Linked DNA regions of Homo sapiens: region 2 is linked to region 1. Evidence: promoter capture Hi-C in human tissues and cell types (Jung and others, 2019). All regions are on one chromosome and are shown on one strand. Each heading gives the region's core, a stretch centred on a gene start or on the middle of the fragment in contact. The rest is flanking DNA. Distances are from core to core; before and after follow the strand shown.

Region 1 (3,630 bases), core at 311-2,810:
AGAAAAGCAAGGCCTGAGGCAGAAGGAAAGGAGAATGTGTGGGATCAGGGCCTGAGAGGGGACATTGCAAGGAGTCCTCTCAAAGCTCTGGGTACACAAGACTAAGGAAACCCCCATCTCACTGGGGCTCTTGTCCCTGGTAAATTAGGCGATTAATGAATGATTCTCTTGTGCTGAGTCCATGCCCCTCGTAACTTTTTTTTTTTTTTGAGACAGAGTTTTACTCTTGTTGCCCAGGCTGGAGTGCAATGGTGCGGTCTCGGCTCACCGCAACCTCCACCTCCCGGGTTCAAGCAATTCTCCTGCCTCAGTCTCCAGAGTAGCTGGGATTACGGGCATGTGCCACCACGCCTGGCTAATTTTTTGTATTTTTAGTAGAGACGGGGTTTCACTATGTTAGCCAGGATGGTCTCGATCTCCCAACCTTAGGTGATCTGCCTGCTTTGGCCTCCCAAAGTGCTGGGATTACAGGTGTGAGACGCAGTGCCCAGCCTGATTTTTTTTTTTTTTTTTTTGAGACAGGAGTCTCACTAAATTGCCCAGGCTGGACTCAAATTCTTGGGCCCAAGCAATCCTCCCACCTCAGCCTCCTGGATAGCTGAGACTACAGGTGTGCAGCACCATGCCCAACTCTCTCACAGCATTCTTAGAAGCACAGATTTGGCTCTGGGTTTTATCAAAAGCAGTGACATTTTCCATTGCACCAATCAAATCTATTTAGCCAGGCTACAGGATGAGAAACGATCATCGGAGGTCTCAGTGCCAGTGGAACCATCTTGCAGGCCAAAAAGTAAAGATGACCAGAAAGAGGGAACAAGAATACATCCAGGGTGCAGATACAGAGGCCAAGACAGGCTGGCGGCCTGGGCTGGGATGGGGGGTGGAGGGGCTCACCTTTCCCATTCTCTAAGTCAGAACAGCTCCTGGATTTGTAAAAGTGCAGGAGCCCCATGGACATAACGTGGGCTGATGTGTGGATTCTGTTGCTGACATCCACGGGCCAGCGCTGGTAGAAGAGGCTCCTAGAGAGGTCCAGCCATTTCTTGGAGAAGGCCACGACCAATAGTAGGATAAAGGCAACCAGGCTGAGCTCAGAGGCCAACACCTGGGCCATCCAGCGGAAGCTGTGTGTGATTCTCCATTGAAAGGGCAGCGGAGAGTTCTGGCGCTGGCCCAAGGACCTGTTACTACTGAGGGAGAGGGTGGAGGACAGCAGTCTCCCATCTTGTCCCAGCTCACCTGTGCCCCATCCTGCCTCCCCACTCTTCCTTTCCTTTCCAGGTCTCTGATGTTGGTCTCTTTCTCCTTCTGACCTGGGGAACTCATTCCCAGAGTACTCTGCATCCATCTTGAGCACCACTTCACCCTCTGTCTCCCCTTTCCCTCACCAGACTCAATTGTCTCTTCTCATCTTTTGGATATTTTCATCAGCTGCCACCATGCAGCCTGAGGTCTGAGAAAGAATGAGGAAGTCTAATAACAGACCTCGATCAAATAAGAGACTCTTGATCCAAGAGAAGGCCCCAACCCATTCAGCAGGCCAGGTCCCCTAACTGCCACGGAATTTTCCTGGGGCACAGTGAGATGGGGGAGGGAAGCCAAGTCTTCAGCAATTTTTTTTTTTTTTTTTTTTTTTTTTAGAGAGAGAGACAGGGTCTCCCTCTATTGCCCAGGCTGGGATGCAGTGGCACAACCTTGGCTCACTGCAACCTTGAACTCCTGGGTTCAAGTGATCCTCCCACCTCAGCCTCCTGAGTAGCTGGGATTACAGGATTGTGCCAGCATGCCTGGCTAATTTTTCAATTGTTTGTAGAGATGGGGTCTTGATATGTTACCCAGCCTGGTCTCAAACTCCTGGCCTCTGCCAGGCACGGTGGCTCACGCCTGTAATCACTGCACTTTGGGAGGCCGAGGTGGGTGGATCACCTGAGGTCGGGAGTTCGAGACCATCTTGACCAACATGGAGAAACCCCATCTCTACTAAAAATACAAAATTAGCTGGGCGTGGTAGCACATGCCTGTAGTCCCAGCTACTCAGGAGGCTGAGGCAGGAGAATTGCTTGAACCTGGGAGGCGGAGGTTGCGGTGAGCCGAGATCGCACCATTGCACTCCAGCCTGGGCAACAAGAGTGAAACTCAGCCTCAAAAAAAAAAAAAAAAAACTCCTGGCCTCATGAGATCCTCCCCACTTGGCCTCCCAAAGCACTGGGATTACAGGTGTGAGCCACCTTGCCTGGCCTGTGGCTCCAGCTCTAACTCTTTCCGGAAATCCTGTTTCTCAGGCCACAGCTCAGAACTGTGGATCTGACACCTCCCTCCAGCTTCTGCCTCCCTTTACATATGAGCAATGGTATGTGAGAGGCCCTCCTGTGGTCTGCATATGGTTAATTTGTCTTCACCAAACCTCATGCTGAAATTTGCTCCCCAGTGTGGTGGTGATGGGAGGTGAGAGGGCCTAGTGGGTGGTGTTTGGGTCATGGGGGCAGATGCCTTGTGATTGGATTAACGCCTTCCCTGAGACCTCACTCCATTAGCTCCCCGCAATAGCTGGTTGTTAAAAAGAACCTGGCGCTGTTACCAAGCAAAAGTGCTCGCTGCCAGATGTGCATAGAAGCCAATACTCCAATACTAGGGCACTAGGTTTTGAGAAAAGGAAAGCTTTATTGTGAGCTGACCCACGAGGATACGGGAATCCAGCTCAAATCTGTCTCTCTTTGCTGGTCTTAAGGCAGTACTTTTATTAGAAAAGGTTTAGGGGGAGGATTCTGGGATTAGCGGGTGATTGGTGGAAAGAAAGGAGAAGTCTAGAAAGTCCTTAATCATGTCTGGTTATCTCCAAGGTTCTTCGTGGGTTGCATGTGCAAATTTGGTGGCGTTAGTATGAAACAGCAGGTGGAAATTCAGGCTGTGACATCAGCAAGCTCGTTCTGTGCGGATTGCTGTCAGCCATACGGGTTCCCACTGATTTCAGCCAGTCCTGTTATAAGCAAAGGGATTTTTCAGCATTTCAGCAAGCTGTTTCTTAGCTGCCATCCTGTAAACTCGAAAATGTCTGTTAATCACTGGTTTATTTAACTGTTTGGGGCACAGTTTCAGCTCCTCCCTTACCTTGTGATCTCTGCACAAGCCAGCTCCCCCTTGCCTCCACCATAAGTGAAAGCAGCCTGACGTCCTCAACAGATGCCCAATCTTGAGCTTTCTGGCCATCAGAATTGTGAGCCAAATAGCCCTTTTTTCTTTATAAATTATTCACCCTCAGGTATTCTGTTATAGCAACACAAAATGGACTAGGACAGTCCCCTTTTCTCTTCCTAGTTCCTCTGCCCTAACCCCAACCCCAAATGCTCACTGATGGAGCAGGGGGAGGGAGCAGGAGCTTATCCCCAGGAAAAGATCCTCCCTCCATTGTTCTTTGGACATGTCTTGCAAAGATGTCATCGAGCTTCCCATTGCTTTCCCCAACCCTTCACCTCCCTCCCAGCTCTACTCACTGCTAGTCAATCACCACCAGTTCCTTCCCTCTTCTTTTGACTTTTCTTTTTCCTTTCTTTTTTTTCTCAGCACCAGAAAGAGGAGGATGTAGGATGAGAATGGGTCCTAGAGGTGTCATGCCTTCTGAGATTGTTATAA
Region 2 (3,535 bases), core at 1-2,500, 100 kb after region 1:
CAGCATGTTTGGATGACCAGTCAGTCCTCCCGTCTGTTGCTGCTGAAACCAGAATGTGTGCAGGAGCTGGAACTGGAGCTGGAAGGACCCCTCTTAGAGGCTGACCCCAAGCCACTCCCCATGCCCAGCAACTCGGAGGACAAGAAGGATCCAGAAAGTCTTGTCCGGTATTCTAGACTCCTATCCTATTCGGTGAGCACAGGGAGAGATCCTAGAGCTTGAGGGGCCAGAAATGTGGGTTTTCAAAGAGGAAGAAAATAGTGGTCAACTGGACCTCGGCCTGTTTGCAGGGAGCAGTCACTGGCGTGTTGAATGAGCCCGCTGGCCTCTATGAGCTGGATGGGCAGCTGGGGCTCTGCCTTGCCTACCAGCAGTTCCGTGGCCTTAGGCGGGTGATGCGACCTGGAGTGTGTCTGCAGGTATGTGAGATCAGGGCTGATAACAAAAAGAGACCTCTGCAGCTTCTCTTACCTTCATAGGCTCCTTTTCTGCAGCAGGGTGGTTATATAGAAATATAGAAATTAAAAGTGTGTGTTAGGGGGCACTTTTGCTAAGGATAACTTGGACAGAAGCTTAAATAAAAAGGAGTAGAGTCTTGGGCACTGTGAGGAGGAGTTGTGGCCAGAGCATCTCCTTCACAGAAGGGCCTTTCAGCTGGAGGAGGAGATAGCTGAAGCACAGATCTGGGGCTGGGGTGATCTCAGGCGACCCGGTGAGAAGCCTCAGCCATGTCTGTTCATCCAGGAGCCACCCAGCCCACAGCAAGACTGAGTGGAGCTCATGGGAGATGAAGGCTGACCGCAGCGGGAGTGGGTTGTAATGGAAAGTGAGGCCAGCCCACGTGGGAGAAATTGCTTTCCGTCTTCCTGGAACCCAGGCAGTGGCAAAGTGCGGTTAACTCTGCCTGGGTTCATTGAGTTGGGGTCTTCATCTCTGCTTTTTCATTTTCTCTGCTTTCCCCCAGCTCCAGGATGTTCACCTGCTCCAGTCAGTGGGAGGGGGGACAAGAAGGCCAGTGCTCGCCCCCTGCCTCCGTGGCGCCGTTCTGCTTCAAAGCTTCTCTCGTCAGAAGCCTGGGGCTCACTCATCCCGTCAAGCCTACGGGGCCTCCCTGTACGAGCAGCTGGTGTGGGAACGTCAGTTAGGACTTCCCCTCTACCTGTGGGCTACCAAGGCCCTGGAGGAGCTGGCCTGCAAGTGAGGAGGCTGAGGGCCCAGGGCGGGGAGGCAGTGGGAGTAGCACACTTCCTTGGCAAGGAGAGCAGGATTCTTGAAGAGGCAGGCTCTTCAGGGGAAGTGACTGTGCTGCTTTTCCTGGCCAAGGCTGTGTCCCCATGTGCTGAGACACCACCAGTTCCTGCAACATTCCTCTCCTGGGAGCCCCAGCCTGGGACTGCAACTCCTGGCTCCTACCCTGGATCTTCTAGCTCCGCCAGGCAGCCCTGTTCGGAATGCACACAATGAGATCCTTGAAGAGCCACATCACTGTCCCCTCCAGAAAGTATGAGGATGTGGGGGAAGGATGGTGGCAGAACACTGGAGGACACCTGGGGCCCATGGGACACACACCCGATTTCTCTTCCCTCCTTGACAGTACACTCGGCTGCAGACTCCCTCCTCCTTCCCCACTCTGGCCACCCTGAAAGAAGAAGGACAGCGTAAGGCCTGGGCCTCCTTTGACCCTAAGGCCCTTCTGCCCCTCCCGGAGGCCTCCTACCTGCCCAGCTGCCAACTCAATCGCCGCCTGGCTTGGTCCTGGCTCTGTCTGCTGCCCTCTGCCTTCTGCCCAGCCCAGGTAAGGGGGACCCTAGCAGGGCTCAGGTGATTTCCCTTTTTGTCATCCTTATTGCCACGACTCTAGTCTCGGTTACTATCTTTCTTCGTCATTTTGACTACACTAGCCTTCTAAGCAGACCACTTCATCTGTTGTTGGCCCTCCAATTCATTCTCTCTGCAGCAACTAGAAATGGGGATATGCCAGGCACAGTGGCTCATGCCTGTAATCCCAACACTTTGGGAGGCTAAGGCATGAGGATCACTGGAGCCCAAGAGTTTGAGACCAGCCTGGGTAGAGAGACCTTGTTGCTACAAAAAAGTTGTCTTAATTAGGTGCGGTGGCATGTGCCTATGGTCCCAGCTACTCAGGAGGCTGAGGTAGGATTGCTTGAGCCTGAGAGATCAAGAGTATAGTGAGCCAAGATCACACCACTGCACTCCAGCCGGGGCAACAGAGCAAGACTCAGGAAAAAAAAGGAAGTTTAAAAAAAAGTGAAACTTGTATTACAGAACTCTCTTGTTTAAATCCTTTTTTTCGAGACAGGATCTTGCTCTGTAGCCCAGGCTAGAGTGCATTGGCGCGATCATGGCTCATTGCAGTCTCGACCTCCCAGGTTCCAGTGATCTTCCCACCTCAGCCTCCCAAGTAGCTGAGACTACGGGCGTTCACCACCGTCCCTGGCTAATTTTATTTTTTTATTTTTTTGGGACAGAATCTTGCTCTGTCACCCAGGCTAGAGTGCAGAGGCACTATCTTGGCTCACTGCAACCTTGCCTCCTGGGCTCAAGCAGTCCTCCCACCTCAGCCTCCCGAGTAGCTGGGACTGTAGGCATCCATCACCACATCCAGCTAATTTTTGTGTTTTTGTAGAGATGGGATTTTGCCATGTTTCCCAGGCTGGTCTCGAATTCCTGGACTTGAGTGATCTGCCTGCCTCAGCCTCCCAAAGTGCTGGGATTATAGGCATGAGCCACTGCACCTGGCCTGGGTTAATTTTTACACTTTTTAATTTTTAGAGATGGGGTCTCACTATGTTGCCAGGCTGATCTCCACCTCCTGAGCTCAAGTGATCCTTCTGCCTTGGCCTCCCAAAGTGCTAGGATTACAGGCGTGAGCCACTGCGCCCCAGCTTAAATTCTTTGCGTGCCTCCCAGTGCATATAAAGTAAAATCAAACGTCTCATTGTGTCCTGTGAGATCCCGCATGGCCTCTTACCTGTAACCTCTATTTGTGCGCTTTCTCTTCTCCTACTAAATGTGTGAATGCGTGTGTGTTTTTTTATGTCTGTCTTCCCCACTTGAATATAAGTTTTTTGAAGCCAGAGACGTGTCTTTTTTGTTCATTTTGTAGCTTTACCATGTAATACAGCATCTGGCAAATAGTAGATGCTCAGTATTTGCTGAATAAACATTTGATAACTCAACCTTCATCTTCTTGCAGGTTTTACTTGGGGTTCTGGTGGCTTCATCTCATAAAGGTTGTCTGCAACTTCGGGACCAAAGTGGTTCCCTGCCCTGCCTGCTCCTGGCCAAGCACTCTCAACCCCTCAGTGACCCACGGCTGATAGGTTTGGAGTTCAGATGTGGAAAGAAGATGGTAGTGGGATGGTGGTTCTCATAGCCAGGGGAGCCTGGGAGGAAAAGCCTGCTGGGATTTACTAGAGATGCAGAAGTGACACATGTCAATCAACAACTTCTGGGAGACTTGTATGGCAGGCAGAGAACAGGAGCAAGAGGACCCCTAGCCAGAATTTCCAGC

What was found. The method cuts DNA at HindIII sites, captures the fragments that hold promoters and counts their contacts. A contact is called where the count stands out against the background at its distance.
Region 2: a fragment that was not itself captured here is called in contact with the fragment with the promoter of ODF4 in region 1 in 4 of the 25 tissues and cell types used here (H1 embryonic stem cells, IMR-90 fibroblasts, mesendoderm cells and 1 more).

The regions. Positions count from the first base shown.
Region 1 is chr17:8,337,770-8,341,399 of GRCh38, reverse strand. It overlaps ODF4 (outer dense fiber of sperm tails 4), which reads right to left and starts at 1,560. Exons shown (of 3, transcript NM_153007.5): 1 at 895-1,560. The coding sequence starts at 1,348. LOC124903916 (a long non-coding RNA gene) reads right to left here and starts at 3,343. Exons shown (of 2, transcript XR_007065607.1): 1 at 3,109-3,343; 2 at 2,642-2,977. The HindIII fragment of the contact is 12,554 bases long and covers 1-3,630 here.
Region 2 is chr17:8,232,715-8,236,249 of GRCh38, reverse strand. It overlaps CTC1 (CST telomere replication complex component 1), which reads left to right. Exons shown (of 23, transcript NM_025099.6): 6 at 1-192; 7 at 291-419; 8 at 965-1,197; 9 at 1,324-1,501; 10 at 1,595-1,795; 11 at 3,218-3,344. Among named protein-coding and RNA genes, the nearest start is that of TRI-AAT4-1, 7.4 kb to the right of the region's middle. The HindIII fragment of the contact is 3,118 bases long and covers 1-2,809 here.